Linked DNA regions of Homo sapiens: all the other regions are linked to region 2. Evidence: promoter capture Hi-C in 16 types of primary human blood cells and fetal thymus (Javierre and others, 2016). All regions are on one chromosome and are shown on one strand. Each heading gives the region's core, a stretch centred on a gene start or on the middle of the fragment in contact. The rest is flanking DNA. Distances are from core to core; before and after follow the strand shown.

Evidence for each region. Contacts are between HindIII fragments. The CHiCAGO score rates a contact against its expected background, and 5 or more counts as called.
Region 1: a fragment that was not itself captured here is called in contact with the fragment with the promoter of KCTD8 in region 2 in 2 of 17 cell types (naive B cells and total B cells); the score reaches 6.3 in naive B cells.
Region 3: a contact is called between a fragment that was not itself captured here and the fragment with the promoter of KCTD8 in region 2, in 2 of 17 cell types (naive B cells and total B cells). The highest score is 9.3, in naive B cells.
Region 4: a contact is called between a fragment that was not itself captured here and the fragment with the promoter of KCTD8 in region 2, in 1 of 17 cell types (M2 macrophages). The highest score is 6.2, in M2 macrophages.

Annotation. Positions count from the first base shown.
Region 1 is chr4:43,085,576-43,089,049 of GRCh38, forward strand. No RefSeq gene overlaps it. Among named protein-coding and RNA genes, the nearest start is that of GRXCR1, 190 kb to the left of the region's middle. The HindIII fragment of the contact is 1,563 bases long and covers 472-2,034 here.
Region 2 is chr4:44,446,955-44,450,348 of GRCh38, forward strand. It overlaps KCTD8 (potassium channel tetramerization domain containing 8), which reads right to left and starts at 1,855. Exons shown (of 2, transcript NM_198353.3): 1 at 609-1,855. The coding sequence starts at 1,569. The HindIII fragment of the contact is 5,511 bases long and covers 1-3,394 here.
Region 3 is chr4:43,121,025-43,124,389 of GRCh38, forward strand. No RefSeq gene overlaps it. Among named protein-coding and RNA genes, the nearest start is that of GRXCR1, 230 kb to the left of the region's middle. The HindIII fragment of the contact is 6,909 bases long and covers 1-3,365 here.
Region 4 is chr4:42,997,652-43,001,056 of GRCh38, forward strand. The region is part of intron 2 of GRXCR1 (glutaredoxin and cysteine rich domain containing 1); the gene reads left to right. Among named protein-coding and RNA genes, the nearest start is that of GRXCR1, 110 kb to the left of the region's middle. The HindIII fragment of the contact is 4,303 bases long and covers 1-3,405 here.

The DNA.
Region 1 (3,474 bases), core at 3-2,502, 1.4 Mb before region 2:
TATATAGGTCTTTAATTTCTCTCAGCAATACTTTGTATTTGTGTACAGGTGTTTCACTTCTTCTGTTAGGTCATCCATAAGCAATATATATATTTTTGTGCTGTTATTTTTTTTCAAAAATTTCAGTTTCTGATTGCTTGATTTTTTATGTGGAAATGCAATTTATTTTTGTGTATTAACTATCTCATGAACTCTCTAAACATACTAATACATTCTAGTACCATTTTTATAGGATTTTCTAGGTAGAGCTGATTTGTCTGTGAATAAGGAGTTTCATGTTTTTCTTTCTAATATGGTTGCTATTTATTTACTTATTTACAGTTGACTCTTGTTATTCACAGCAATTATATGCTATAATGGCTCCGGGAACACTGACTTAAGAGTTATTGAACCATTGCTTCTAGGAGAAATACAAGGTTAGGTGCCTGTAAGCCTCTGGTCACAGCATTTTCATCAACTGATGAATACCCAAGCTTGTTTTATGTATATTTCTGTTTAAGCAAACATTACTTAAGATGTCTTATTGATTGATTCACATTGAACTCAGAGCCAACAGCATTATAATTTACGCCTGAAAGAATTGCATGTAGCACACCTATTTTCCCTGAAAGGCACATCACAGTCCTCTTGTTCTTAGGAATGCTAGCCAACACTTCAGCATTATGCTTAAGGGCCATTTTAGGCAAGGGAATCACCAACAAAAAGTACAAAAGTGTGAAAAACATGGCACTATATAGACCATGACAGTTGTTCACGGTATGAGAATTGAAACAAGAAGTCGAAGTGTCACCTTGTTCCACCTTAGCTGGGAACGTGCTGGTGTTGAATTTCCTCACATATTTTGGGATTCTCAAGTGCTTTATGTCTTCATTATTCTTCTTTTTAAAGAAAAGATCTCCTCACTGCTTTAGTGCAGAGTCAGCTTCAGATCCATGGAGGTTACTTTTGTTTAGAGCTGTACCTCTGGTTGGCTTCTTTCTTTTAGAGCTGCATCTCCATTTCTGGTCCCAAGAGAATTTCTTTTCTCATATATATGTATCTATACACACACATAGATATAGGTATGTGTGTATACATATATATATGTATGTGTGTATATATATTATATAATTTTTCATATATGTATGTATGAATATAGGTATGAATATATGTGTATATATATATATGGCAAGCACTTCTGCATTCTAAAGTAAGGTGTGAGCATAATGAAATAGGGTTATAAAGACATGCTCAAAAATCAGTTTTGTGATAAATAGTTCTGCATGTCCTTTTAAGGTCAAAAGAGTTCAAGTTGCTGAAGTTATTGTTGTTTGGAAAATAGAAGTATTTCTTCACACTCTAACATCAACACATTTAAAAAGGGCACTAAGAGTCCTGATGCCAATTCCCACGGAGGAAAAATTAGTGGTATATTCCATTCACCTTAAGGCCTTGGAGAGCTTGAACTGTGTCCCTGGAGGTCAGGGGTTACAGAAAACTTTTCTGTGAGCCATCATCTTGAGACACTGTGTCCAGTTCTGAGAAGAGGTTGTCATTTTGGCAATAACCTTGACTCCCAGAGTTACTTAAGCTGAACCATGCATTAGTACTTTCTGAGGATGAGATATGAGCCCCATGGATGAGAGAGCTAGTCCATGAAGAATATGTATAGGGGCATGGTATCTGGTTTCCCAAATCTGATGAGGAGTCACAAGTATCCTGCCAGAGATGTCAGGGATCTGCAACAAGACATTTCAGCAACTGGAAGTGGTATGGAAGGAATATCTCCCTGAAGCCCACAAATAATCTCTTAAAAAAAAGGAAAAGGTCAGTTCGACCTAAACCAAAGGAAACCATATTATTCTGATACTGTCATATGAGATCCTGGTATGTTTTTCTCCTGGGCCAGTCCCTCAGAAGGAACAGAACTCTCAGCTAGTGATGTAGGGATGAAGGATTTGATGGCTGAAGAGGGACTAAGAAGAGGTTAGTCATGCAACCCTTTTCCTCTTCAGGCTATCAACTTTAAGCAAGGCTGAGCTTGGGGAGAGAAGAAGCTTTGATTTTGACTGTAGTTTAGAGTTTCCATTACTATGTGAAAATGGAAATTTTACTCAGCATAAAAAGATTATTTTGATGACTAAATATGGCTAGAGGAACTTTTATTACCTGAGAGTGATAAAAACTTTTGATGACTAAATATGGCTAGATGAACTTTTATTACCTGAGAGTGAAAAAAATGTTGCAGACTTATTATTTCATTTCTCTTGAGTAAATATCAGGAGTAAAACTGTGGGAATGATACATTTTAAGAAATGATCTAATTGTTTTCCAAAGTGATCATAACAATGTTAAATTCCCTCCAGCATTATATGAGAGTTCTCATTCTACAATCTCTCCAATACTTGGTATGATCAGTCTTTACTTTCAGTAAGTAAGTATGTGGTGGTATCTCTCTGAGGTTTTGCTCTGAATTTCCCTAATAACTAATAGTATTTGCCAAATTTTCATATGCTTATTTGCCACCCTTAAGCCTTCTTTGATAATGTGTCTATTCAAATCTTTTCCCAATTTTTATTTTGTTTTATTATTGAGTTTTGTGATTGAAAAAATATATTCTGCAAATAAGCCATTTATCATGTATATGATTTGCAGATATTTTCTCCTAGTCTTTGTCTTGCTTTTACATGTTCTTTACGGTGTTTTTTTAAAAAGCAAACATTTTTAATTCGTTCTTCTGTAGATTGTTTTTAGTTTTATATGTAAAAAATCTTTGTCTTACCCAAAGCTATAAAATATATGTGCATATAAAATATTGTACTTGAATATTCATAGTAATTTTAGTGAAAATCTGGAAACAGCACAAATGCCCATCAACAGGTAACTGGTTTTACAAAATTATAGTATATCCTTAAAATGAAATACTACTCAACAATAAAAAGGAATGAAATACGAATACACACTACAACATGGATGAATCTCAAAATAATTGTGTGGAATGAAAGATATATGACAAACAAAATTACATGTTGTATGATTTCATTTATATACTGTTCTAGAAAACTTAACATAGTGAGAGAAGCAGATCAGTGATTGCTTCGGGATGGAGAATGAAAAGGGTGGGTGAGAGAAATTAAAATGGGGCATGATAAAACTTTTGGTGGAGATTTACCACCTTAATTGAAATAATGGGTTTGAAAGTACATACTTATATATTTGATGTTACAGCTTATCACATTATGTGCTTTAAGTATATGCAGTCTACTGTATGCCCATTATTTATCAAAGCTGTTAGAGATTATAGGAAATCTGACTAAAATTTCTCCCGGACTCAGAGAAAGAACCTGCCAAGCTTGGATGGACAATTTAAGATAAAGAATAGTATTGCTTTCTGAATATTTTCCAAATACCTTGCTAATTCATTGTATTAGTTATATCAGTTTTAAAACTCAAAACCTACATAAGACTCAGCAGAAAGGTAGAAACATATAGACA
Region 2 (3,394 bases), core at 605-3,104:
TCCCCACACCCGCTCTCATGCCCCCGCCCCCTCGAGGGGCTCTGGGGGCACCTTTATCGCTTCTCCCCTGCCCTCTAGAAAACCACCCGTAACTGGAGGCTCCCGCGCGGCAGCTGCACCAACAGCAGGTGATCCAGGTGGTGCGAGGCGATGCCTTGTTATGGCATCCTGCCCTCTGCAGGGACACCACTGAGGGCCACATGAAATGACCCCCAGCAGTCCTGCAAAAGCAAAGGGGTGGAGGAGGGTCTATGCACCCTGCCCTGTGCCCCAGTCTCTCCCACCCTGTCCTCCGCAACCGAGGAGACCCTGGCATCTGGGAGCGGGCTGGGCCGAGAAGGCAAGATCAATAAAGTTCAGCAAGTAGACAGCTGGGAGCTGGGTGCTACTGAGTTCTAGAAAGGGGGAGTAGAGACGGAAATATCCGAATCGGTGAAATGTAAATCGTGTCTACTGCATAAGGGAATCGTGCAGGGAGAGCCGCTCTCTATAAGGAGTTAACCAGCGCCTGCCCCGGACACCCCCGCGGGGCCTCCAGCGGGGCTCAAACTGGCGGCGGCTCAGCAGGGGGCGAGGGGTGCTGGGAAACGCCGGGGCTGCGAACTTACGGAAGAAAATGTACTCGGTGTAGCTGCTCCAGATCTTGTCGTCGCGGTACTGGTTGACGAAGGCGGCGGTGCCCGAGGAGTTACACGCCACCATGTGGAAGCCGGCCTCGGACAGGCGATCAAAGGCCTGCTCCAAGTAGGTGAACTTGAGGTAGAAGCGGGACGTGTACTTCTCCGGCTGCCGGTCGGGGTCGCGGCTCTCGTTGAGCGTGTCCCCGAAGACCTCCTTGGCCAGCGCGATGCGCCCGCACACCATGATGCGCGCCACACGCCGGAATTTGGCGTCGGCCTGGTTGTCGCGCACGGTGGTGTAGGAGCCCCGGTAGCCCAGCGTGAGGAAGCCCGAGCGCTTGTCCTGCGCGCCGCCGCCGCCGCCACCACCGTGCGCTCCCGGGCCCGAGGGCACGGCGGCCGCCGCCCCGCGCAGCAGCAGCGCGTCGCTGCTACCCTGCGAGACGTTGTCCTCCAGGTCGCTCTGGCAGCCCTCGTCGTTGAGAGAGTTCTGCTTGGTGACCTTGGGCGACAGCAGCTTGACCAAGTCGGTGAGCTGGAAATACTCGGCCTCGCGCAGCAGCCGCTCCTTCTCGGGGAAGTGCTCCGGCAGCGCGAGTTGCTTGTCCCGCAGATAATCCAGCACGTACCTGAAAAGGAAGCCGTCCCGGTCGATGAAGAAGCGCGCCCGGCTGTCCCTGGGCAGCTCGCCCCGGCGCCGGGCGCCGCCACGGGGACTAGAGGGCGAGAACATGCTGGCCAAAGTACTGTCCGGGACGCTGAGCAGCGTCGAGTGCTTGGTCACATAAACCTGGCCGCCTACGTTCAGCTCCACTACTTCAGGGAAGGGCGAGGGTGCGCAGGGCCCCGGGGCGGCGGCGGCCGACGCGCCGGGCGAGCTGGACGAGGAAACCATCTCGCTAATGGGCAGGATGGTGCTGCCGCCGCTGCCCGTGTCCTTCAGAGCCATAGTCCCCCCGCCGCCGGCCCAGTGACCCGAGAGAGCTGCACTTTCTCGTTCCCGGAGCCCGCGCCCCAGCCCTCCGCGTGCTCCTGGCGCTCTGCGCCCTCGGACTGGGCGGCGCGTTCCTCCGACCGGGGCGGCCCCGCTCAGGGTTCGGGGCAGCGGCGGCGTCGGCGGCGCCCGAGCTCCATCGGAGGAGAGACGCGCGAGAGAGGAGCTCCGCCGGTGCGGCGGCGGCAATGGAGAGGCAAGAAGGAGCTGCTGCTCCTTTGGGGCGAGGGCGGGGAAGTGTGAGAGAGACTTGCGAGAGGCTCTAGGGCTGCTGCTCGGCTCTCCGTGGGGAGGGCGGGAGGAGGGGCCGAAGCAAAGAAAACTCGCCGCCCCGGCAGCTTGCAAGCGTGCCGCGAGGCCGGAGCGCCGACGGTGGCGCTAACTACTCCTGGCAGCACGGGAGGAGGCACTGACGTCAAGCCCCGGACTGGGACCCGAGCCTCAGCTGTCATTTAAAGAGATAGGCTGCAGCCGCGGCTCCCGGGCTCCGACGCTAGGGGGCGGGGCCGAGAGCCGAGCCTGCAAGAGGTGCAGCTCCCCGACCCGCGGGGACAGGCAGGCAGGGAGCTCCTAAAGCAAAAGCGAGAAAAAGGGACAGCGCTCTCATTCCTTCATTTCACTCCCTCCTTGGGTCTGTGCCACCCCCTTTCCTCCCTCCTTTCCTTCTTCTCTTCCTTCCTTCCTTGCCTCCCTCCCCAGTAAAACTAGTTTTTTGCACTTTCATTAAGGTAAGGAGTGGAGGAGCGGAGAGGGGAGAATAAGGTTTTGATTATAGCAAAGATGCCAGGCTCCTAATCTGAAATCACCACAAATGTTGGCTTGCCAGCAGTGATTGCAAAAAGATTACGTGAGGGTGGGAAGGTACATCTCTTGTAGTGGCTTTATGATACAGTTTAAGTGAAGGGCTAAATGCGCGTACCTCTCTTGGAATCAAATTTCACGACTGCGTGCACTGAATATCCTTGAATAATTTTTAAAACTTTGTAATCTGCTTTCAGTTCACAATAATAAAGGAGTGTATGTAACAACTGTTTCCTTCCGACATTTTTACAATTTTTAGTTTTAAATTAGATGCTTAATAAATGTTTATAGAGGGAGAGACGGAGCCCGAGAGGAAATTTACTCGATTTGTTCATTCTTTCTAATCCTGATCAGTCTCATTAATCTCTCCATTTCCCTTTCAGCTCCATCAAACAAGAGAAGTGGCTGATATTTTTATTAGTCTTCTAACCCCAAGAGTAAGGTCACAAATAAAAATTATATGAATTTAAGCTCACCTTAATTTCCATGTGTACATAGTACAGGTACAGTCTGCAAAATGAGCATTACTTGTGATAAAGACTGAAAATAGGAAAGCAAATGAGAAATATTTCTTCTACCCTGGGGCATACATCTGTGTTCAGAAACATAAAGAATCATTGATTTATGAAGTACAAAAGAGAAAAGGGTGTATTGTGGCACAAAGTAGTTTGCTTCAATTATCATAACAATATTACAGATGAACTTTATCCATTAGCAGTCGATATACAGATTTTAATATTTTTTAAAAAGTTAAATGCCTACTAACAACTCCTTTTCTTCAAACCACCCAAAAAAGTATCAAATTTCAGATACGGTTGTAAATTAATACATTATTTTTGGAACATTACAAATTATGTTTAAATCATTGATCCTTATAAGCTGCATCCATAGACAATGTTATACCAATTTTGAAGTTGCATTATATGAAGCAGAGAGAACCTAATGGACCAATGAAAGAACAGAATATATTTGCCAAAGG
Region 3 (3,365 bases), core at 443-2,942, 1.3 Mb before region 2:
CAAAGTTCCACAGATTTCTAGGGCAGGGGCAAAATGCTGCCAGTCTCTTTGCTAAATGTAACAAGAGTTGCCTTTGCTCCAGTTCCCAACAAGTTGCTCATCTCCATCTCAGACCATCTCAGCCTGGCCCTTATTGTTCATGTCACTATTAGCATTTTCATAAAAGCCACTCAAGTCTCTAGTAAGTTCCAAACTTTCCCGCATTTTCCTGTCTTCTTCTGAGCCCTCCAAACTGTTCTAACCTCTGCCTGTTACCCAGTTCCAAAGTCTCTTCCACATTTTCAGGTATCTTTTCATCAACGCCCCACTCTACTGGTACCAATTTACTGTATTAGTCCATTTTCTTGCTGCTGACAAAGATGTACCCAAGACTGGGAAGAAAAAGAGGTTTAATTTATAGTTCCACATGGCTGGGGAGGCCTCAGAATCATGGCAGGAGGCAAAAGGCTCTTCTTACATGGTGGCAGCAAGAGAAAATGAGGAAGAGGCAAAAGTGGAAACCCCTGATAAACCCATCAGATCTCATGAGACTTATTCACTACCATGAGAATAGCATGGGAAAGGCGGTCCCCATGATTCAATTACCTCCCCCTGGGTCCCTCCCACAACACGTGGGAATTCTGGGAGATACAATTAAAGTTGAGATTTTGGTGGGGACACAGCCAAACCATATCAACATGCAAATGGCAAACAGGCATATGAAAAAGTGCTCAACAATACTGATCATTGGAGAAACGCAAATCAAAACTACAATGAGATCTCTTCTCACTCCAGTTAAAATGGCTTACATCTAAAAGACAGGCAATAACAAATGCTGCTGAGGATGTGGAGAAAAGGGAACCCTTGTATGCTGTTGGTGGAATTGTAAATTAGTGCAACCACTATGGAGAACAGTTTGGAGGTTCCTCAAAAACTAAAAACTGAGCTACTGTATGATCCAGCAATCCCACTGCTGTGTATATGCCCAAAAGAAAGGAAATCAGTATATCAAAGAGATATCTGCTCTCCTATATTTGTTGCAGGACTGTTTATAATAGCTAAGACTTGGAAACAATGTAAGCATTCATCAATAGATGAATGGATTAATAAAACGTGGTACATATACACATGGAGTACTATTCAGCCACAAAAAAGAATGAGATCCAGTCATTTGCCATGACATGGATGGAACTGGAAATTATTGTGTTAAGTGAAACAAGCCAGATACAGAGACACAAAAATTGCATGTTCTCAGTTATTTGTGGGATCTAAAACTCAAAACAATAGAACTAATGGACAGAGAGAGTAGAAGGATGGTTACCAGAGGCTGGGAACGGTTGTAGGGGACTGGGCAGGGAAGGTGGGGATTATTAAGGGGTGCAAAAATGTAGTTAGAAAAAATCAATAAGACCTACTGTTAGACAGCACAACAGGGTGACTATAGTCAATAATAGCTTAATCGTACATTTTAAAATAACTTAAATAGTGTAATTGGATTGTTTGTAACTGAAAGGATAGATGCTTGAGGGGATGGATACCCCATTCTCCATGATGTGCTTATTCCACATTGCTTGCCTGTATCAAATAATCTCATGTATCCCATAAATATACACACTTACTATGTACCCATAAAAATAAAAATAAAAAAATAAAATTATAGCACTTTAAAATATACATTATAAGCAGCCTAATCAAGGTGGAAATGTGGTAAATGCAATGTAATTAATTTGCATCTTATATAATTAATTCAAAATAAATCAATATGATTTTTTTATACATATATTATACAATATTTTGTGAAAATTGTTATTTATAAAATAAGACATATGATAAAAGGCATTGTATTAGTTTTTTATATTACAAACTAGAAGCCTTTTAAGAGAGAAATGTATTGTCTTCAGTTCTGTAGGCTGAAAGTCTGAAATCAAGATGCCAGCAGGACTGATTCCTTCTGAGTGCTATGAGGGAGAATCTGTTCCAGGGCTTGCCCCTAGCTTCCGGTAGCCTTAGGCATTACATAGCTGTAGATGGACTTTTCCCTGTGCTTTCGCATCATCTTTCCTCTATATGTGTTTGTATATGTGTCCACATTTTACCTTTTTTATAAGGACACAGGTCATACTGGATTATACTGGTCATACTGGATTAGGGCCCAACCAAGTGACCTCATCTTAACTTGATCATCTACACTGGCCCTATTTCCAAAAAAAGTTCAATTCACAGCTACTGGGGGTAAGGATTTCAGTATATTTTTCAGGGACACAATCCAACCCACAATAGGCATGCTGTTACTTTAATAAATGTATATATATAGCAAATTCATTTGTTTGGGTTTGGAAATAATACAATAAAAATTAATGATTTAAAATGAAAAGAACCATATTAACTTTGTTAGATGCTAGAATCTAATTTTCTCTGTCTTCTATAAAAGGAAACAATACCTAGTACTGAAAATTAAGACACTGATAGTTGGCATATGTTAATTTTTCATAGTAATAAGAAAAAGGTAAGTATATTGTACGATAATTAAAAATAAAAGGAGTAAATGTTTCATGATTTCACTTGAGATTATTGGTTTTAATTATCATATTGAATTCTAAATACCAACTCTGACAGTAATTATATGAGTTTTACCTGTGAATTTTATTCAATGTGTCAGGAAAGCCATGGTAGTCTTTCAAAACATTTGTTATGTTTGAAGAACCAATATCATAAGCCTTTGCTACTGTATCTGTTTTTAAGTTGCTTTTTAAAAAAAAGTTAATGACAAATTCTGGAGATGAGTAGTTAGAATATACAAAGCAAATTATCAAAAAAAAGCATTTTTAGGGTTCAATATCTATTTCCAATGCTCTGCTTTATTTTTATGAGATTTTACCTCAGACTTTACACCTTCTTTGACAATAGCCTGAAATAAAAGAGAAAAAGTTGTCAAACAAAAATTGTTGTCACCCACTCTATTTCACAACATTTGAACTCAGAAGATTCCAACTCACGACATAGTGTTCCATTATAGTATTATGTGTCCACCTTAACAAAAACATATAAAAATAAGAAAAAAGAAGCCCTGTGTATTTATTACATTTTGGTTGATTAATAACTAAAAGAGAGATATATAAAATAAATATTTTCAACTATATGTTTATTTGGATGGGTGAGGGCTGTATCTTTTCTGTAAAAGTGAAAAACAGGTATTGTGGATGCAGGAATGCTCCCAGTTAGGTAAGTTTTTATAAAGACAAATTATGAAAGTTGAGAATCTGGAAATTGATTTCCTTAAAAACATCTGAGTCTGTAAGAAAGTTACACATGTCTTAGTTAGCACCACTGATGTATTGGCCCCACTGCTGGACACTGTGGTTCTGGCCATTTGTTCCCAAGCCTGA
Region 4 (3,405 bases), core at 532-3,031, 1.4 Mb before region 2:
CGCCATCTCCCTGATCACCCCAGGGCCCGGAATCAGAAAACTAGGGATGGCCTTTCTGTCCCAGAGCCCACTGAAGTTATTTAAAGCAGCCAATCGTAAGCCTGTTCACCCTGCCTTGCTTTTTCCATGGAAACCACAATAAAGGCCCCTGCCCTCATTTCTGCCTCTCTCCCTCTGCCTCCTAATGATCCCAGTTCTTCCCTGTGTGGCTCCTGCATGGCATGGCGTGCCTCCTCCCTCCTCTCGGGAACTGTGAGTACAAACTCTCTTTTCCATGTCAATTGTTTTCTCATCTGTTGGCCTCACCATACCTGAATAATAATAAAACCTACATTTTAAAATAGAAGAGAATAATACTTTTTTAAAAGCGTATATTTCTTACTTTATGTCAGGCACAATGGTCCTTCCAGTTTGATGAGGTAAATGCAATTATTACCCCCATTTTCCAAATAAAGGGACTGAGGCTGGGTGAGCCTCATTTCACAGCCAACATTTCACAGCCAGGAGATGATAGAGCAAAGTTTAAAACAGGGCCTTCTGAACGTGAGTCCATAAAAATATGTTTCCTATCACTTAACTCTGCTCTGTTGAAAAACATCAGCAAATTCATCCACTTCCTTTCCATTCTTACTTTTCTTCTGTTGGCTGACCCCTTTCTTAATAAAGATAAACTTGAAAAGAATACACCAAAACTTCTAATCTATAAATGGAGAGTGCCACATTTTTATTCATGTACAAATGTTCCATGCACATGTAATTAAGTAGAGTATAAATACTACCTCCACACATCTGGAAAATAATAGAAAATATGGAAAGGACAGTCTCTGAAGACAATATCACAAAAACGCAAGTGAAAGATACATTGTAAAAATGTTAATGATTGACTAAACATTGTCAAAATGGCCAGGCTTGTAAGGAAAAAAATGTCTGTTTGTGGTTCTTCATAAAAAATAAAGAAAACACAGCAGGTTTGCATTTGGGCCGACATGCTTGAATTTCATGTTTGTGGCATTTCCTGACAGGACATCATCTGTCCCAAACATTTCATGTGTTCTGACTTTTCCATAAGGCAGAGGGTCTTGTTTCAAGGAATAATTACCTCTGAAAATGGAAATTTAAACAGAAGAAATGTTTTTCACCTTTTTGATCATTCTTCTTGACTATGGTCAATAGTTGGAATTTTGTGTGTCAGAGATAAGTTTTGAGAGTTTACTTTAAAAAATGATTGGCAAATTGGTAGATTTGGCTTTCCCAGGCATGCAATACAGCTAACATTGGTGACTTGATGTCCGGTACCTATATTAGATCCTTCTTGGCTGTCAAAAAGTATTTTAAGTCAATAGAACTTAGGAAGAAATGACTTCATAGGTGCACAATCCAGATAACAACCGAGGTCCCTGACCACTTAGGATATAGGAAATATTAAAAGCTGCAAAACTGCATTCTTGGTGCATGTCCACTATTGAGAATGAAGGAGTGATGAGGGCAGGCAGGCTTGCATTCTTATGATCCTTTCTGCCTCAGGTGTATTTCTTCTTTGTATAGTCTGTGTCCTGCACTACAGTCAACCTTGATGTTAAATTCAGCTCATTTCTGGTTTCTCTGCACATCATACCTACAAAGCATGTGTGTATAGAATTTACTCAATGCTCAGAGTTGGGTGTGAGGAGAGACAAAGGAGGGTCTTGCTTTGTACTAAAAAAGACAGCTTCCACTTAAACATGAGCTTCTTCAAGGTCCTTCGACTGCACAGCCTTTCAGGCTTCTTCACCACACAGCCTTAGTTGGTCCCATCTTGTCACTGCACATACTGTCACCTCATCCTCACCTTTCCAAGTCTCTTCCATCCACTCCCCTTTCTTTGGAAGTAAAAACAAAGCATCTTTCTTTATTTCCTATACAACAGTGAGGCCATTCTCCTTTGCTGTCTTTGGCTCCTATGCCTCTCCCATCCTCAGGTCCACTTTTTCCCTCAAGATATCCCAAGATCAGGCCATTCTCCATAATTCAGATTTTTTCCTTAAAGTCTGATTGCTTGGTACAACTATTAGGAATTGTTAAAAACCCATTTAAAGTTTATTGCACACTAAATTAAGAAAACAGCTTTAATTCACTAACAGTATCTAAAAAGTAGACAACTTGATGCAGCCTAAAGTACATGGTTGGCTCAATTGTTTGTATGCATCGGTAAAAGACAATAAACCTACTAAATTCCTAAGATTGTTTGCTATCAGATGGTTGCTGGAATTTAGTTTCTGGTTAATGTGTCTTTGTTCACCTTTCGTGATACACAGTATTCCCCAAACAATCCAAAGTTTTGATTTCCATGGTTTCAGTTACTCACAGTCAACTGCAGTTTGAAAACATTAAATGGAAAATTCCAGAAATAAGCAATTCATAAATCTTAAGTTGTGCACCGTTCTGAGTAGTATGATAAAATCTTGCACTATCCTGCTTTGTCCCTTGGCATGTGAATCATCTCTTTGTCCAGTGTCTCCACACTATACATGCTTTCTGCCTGTTACTCACTTAGAAGGCGTCTAAGGGGGTGGGCACTGTGGCTCACACCTGTAATCCCAGCACTTTGGGAGGCCGAGGCAGGTGGATCATGAGGTCAGGAGATTGAGACCATCCTGGCCAACATGGTGAAACTGTCTCTAGTAACAATACAAAAATTAGCTGGGTGTGATGGTGCACACCTGTAATCCCAGCTACTCAGGAGGCTGAGGCAGAAGAATCGCTTGAACCAGGGACTAGGAGGTTGCAGTGAGCCAAGAATGCGCCACTGCACTCCAGCCTGGTGACAGAGCGAGGCTCTATCTTAAAAAAAAAAAAAAAAAAAAAAAGAAGGCATCTAAGTCTCATGGTATAGCAGTGCTTATGGTCAAGTAATCCTTTTCTACTTCACAATGACCCTGAAGTGCAAGAGTTGTGATGCTGGAATATTATTACAATTATTCTATTTTACTATTAATTGTTGATATCTCTTACTGTGCCTAATTTATAAATTGTTAGAGGTATATATATATATACAGAGAAAACCTCAGTATATATAGGCTTCCGTACCATCTTTGGTTTCAGGCATCCACGAGGGGGTCCTGAAATGTATCCTCCAGAGAAGGGAGCACTACTGTATAAGCCTACTCTGATTGTGTCATTACTAAAACATATGGGGAAAAGTGGTGATGACTATATTACCAATTCGTATATTTTTAGCCGTATACTTGGACTGTATTTATAGCTATAGGTGTTTTTCTCTTTCTTCAACTTCTCTCTTTTTTCACTTTTTTCTTGAGAAGGCGCCTCACTCTGTTGCCCAGGCTGGAGTACAGTGGTGCTATCTCGGCTCACTGCAACCTCTACCTCCCGGGTTCAAGCAGTTCTCCTGCCTCAACCTCCTGAGTA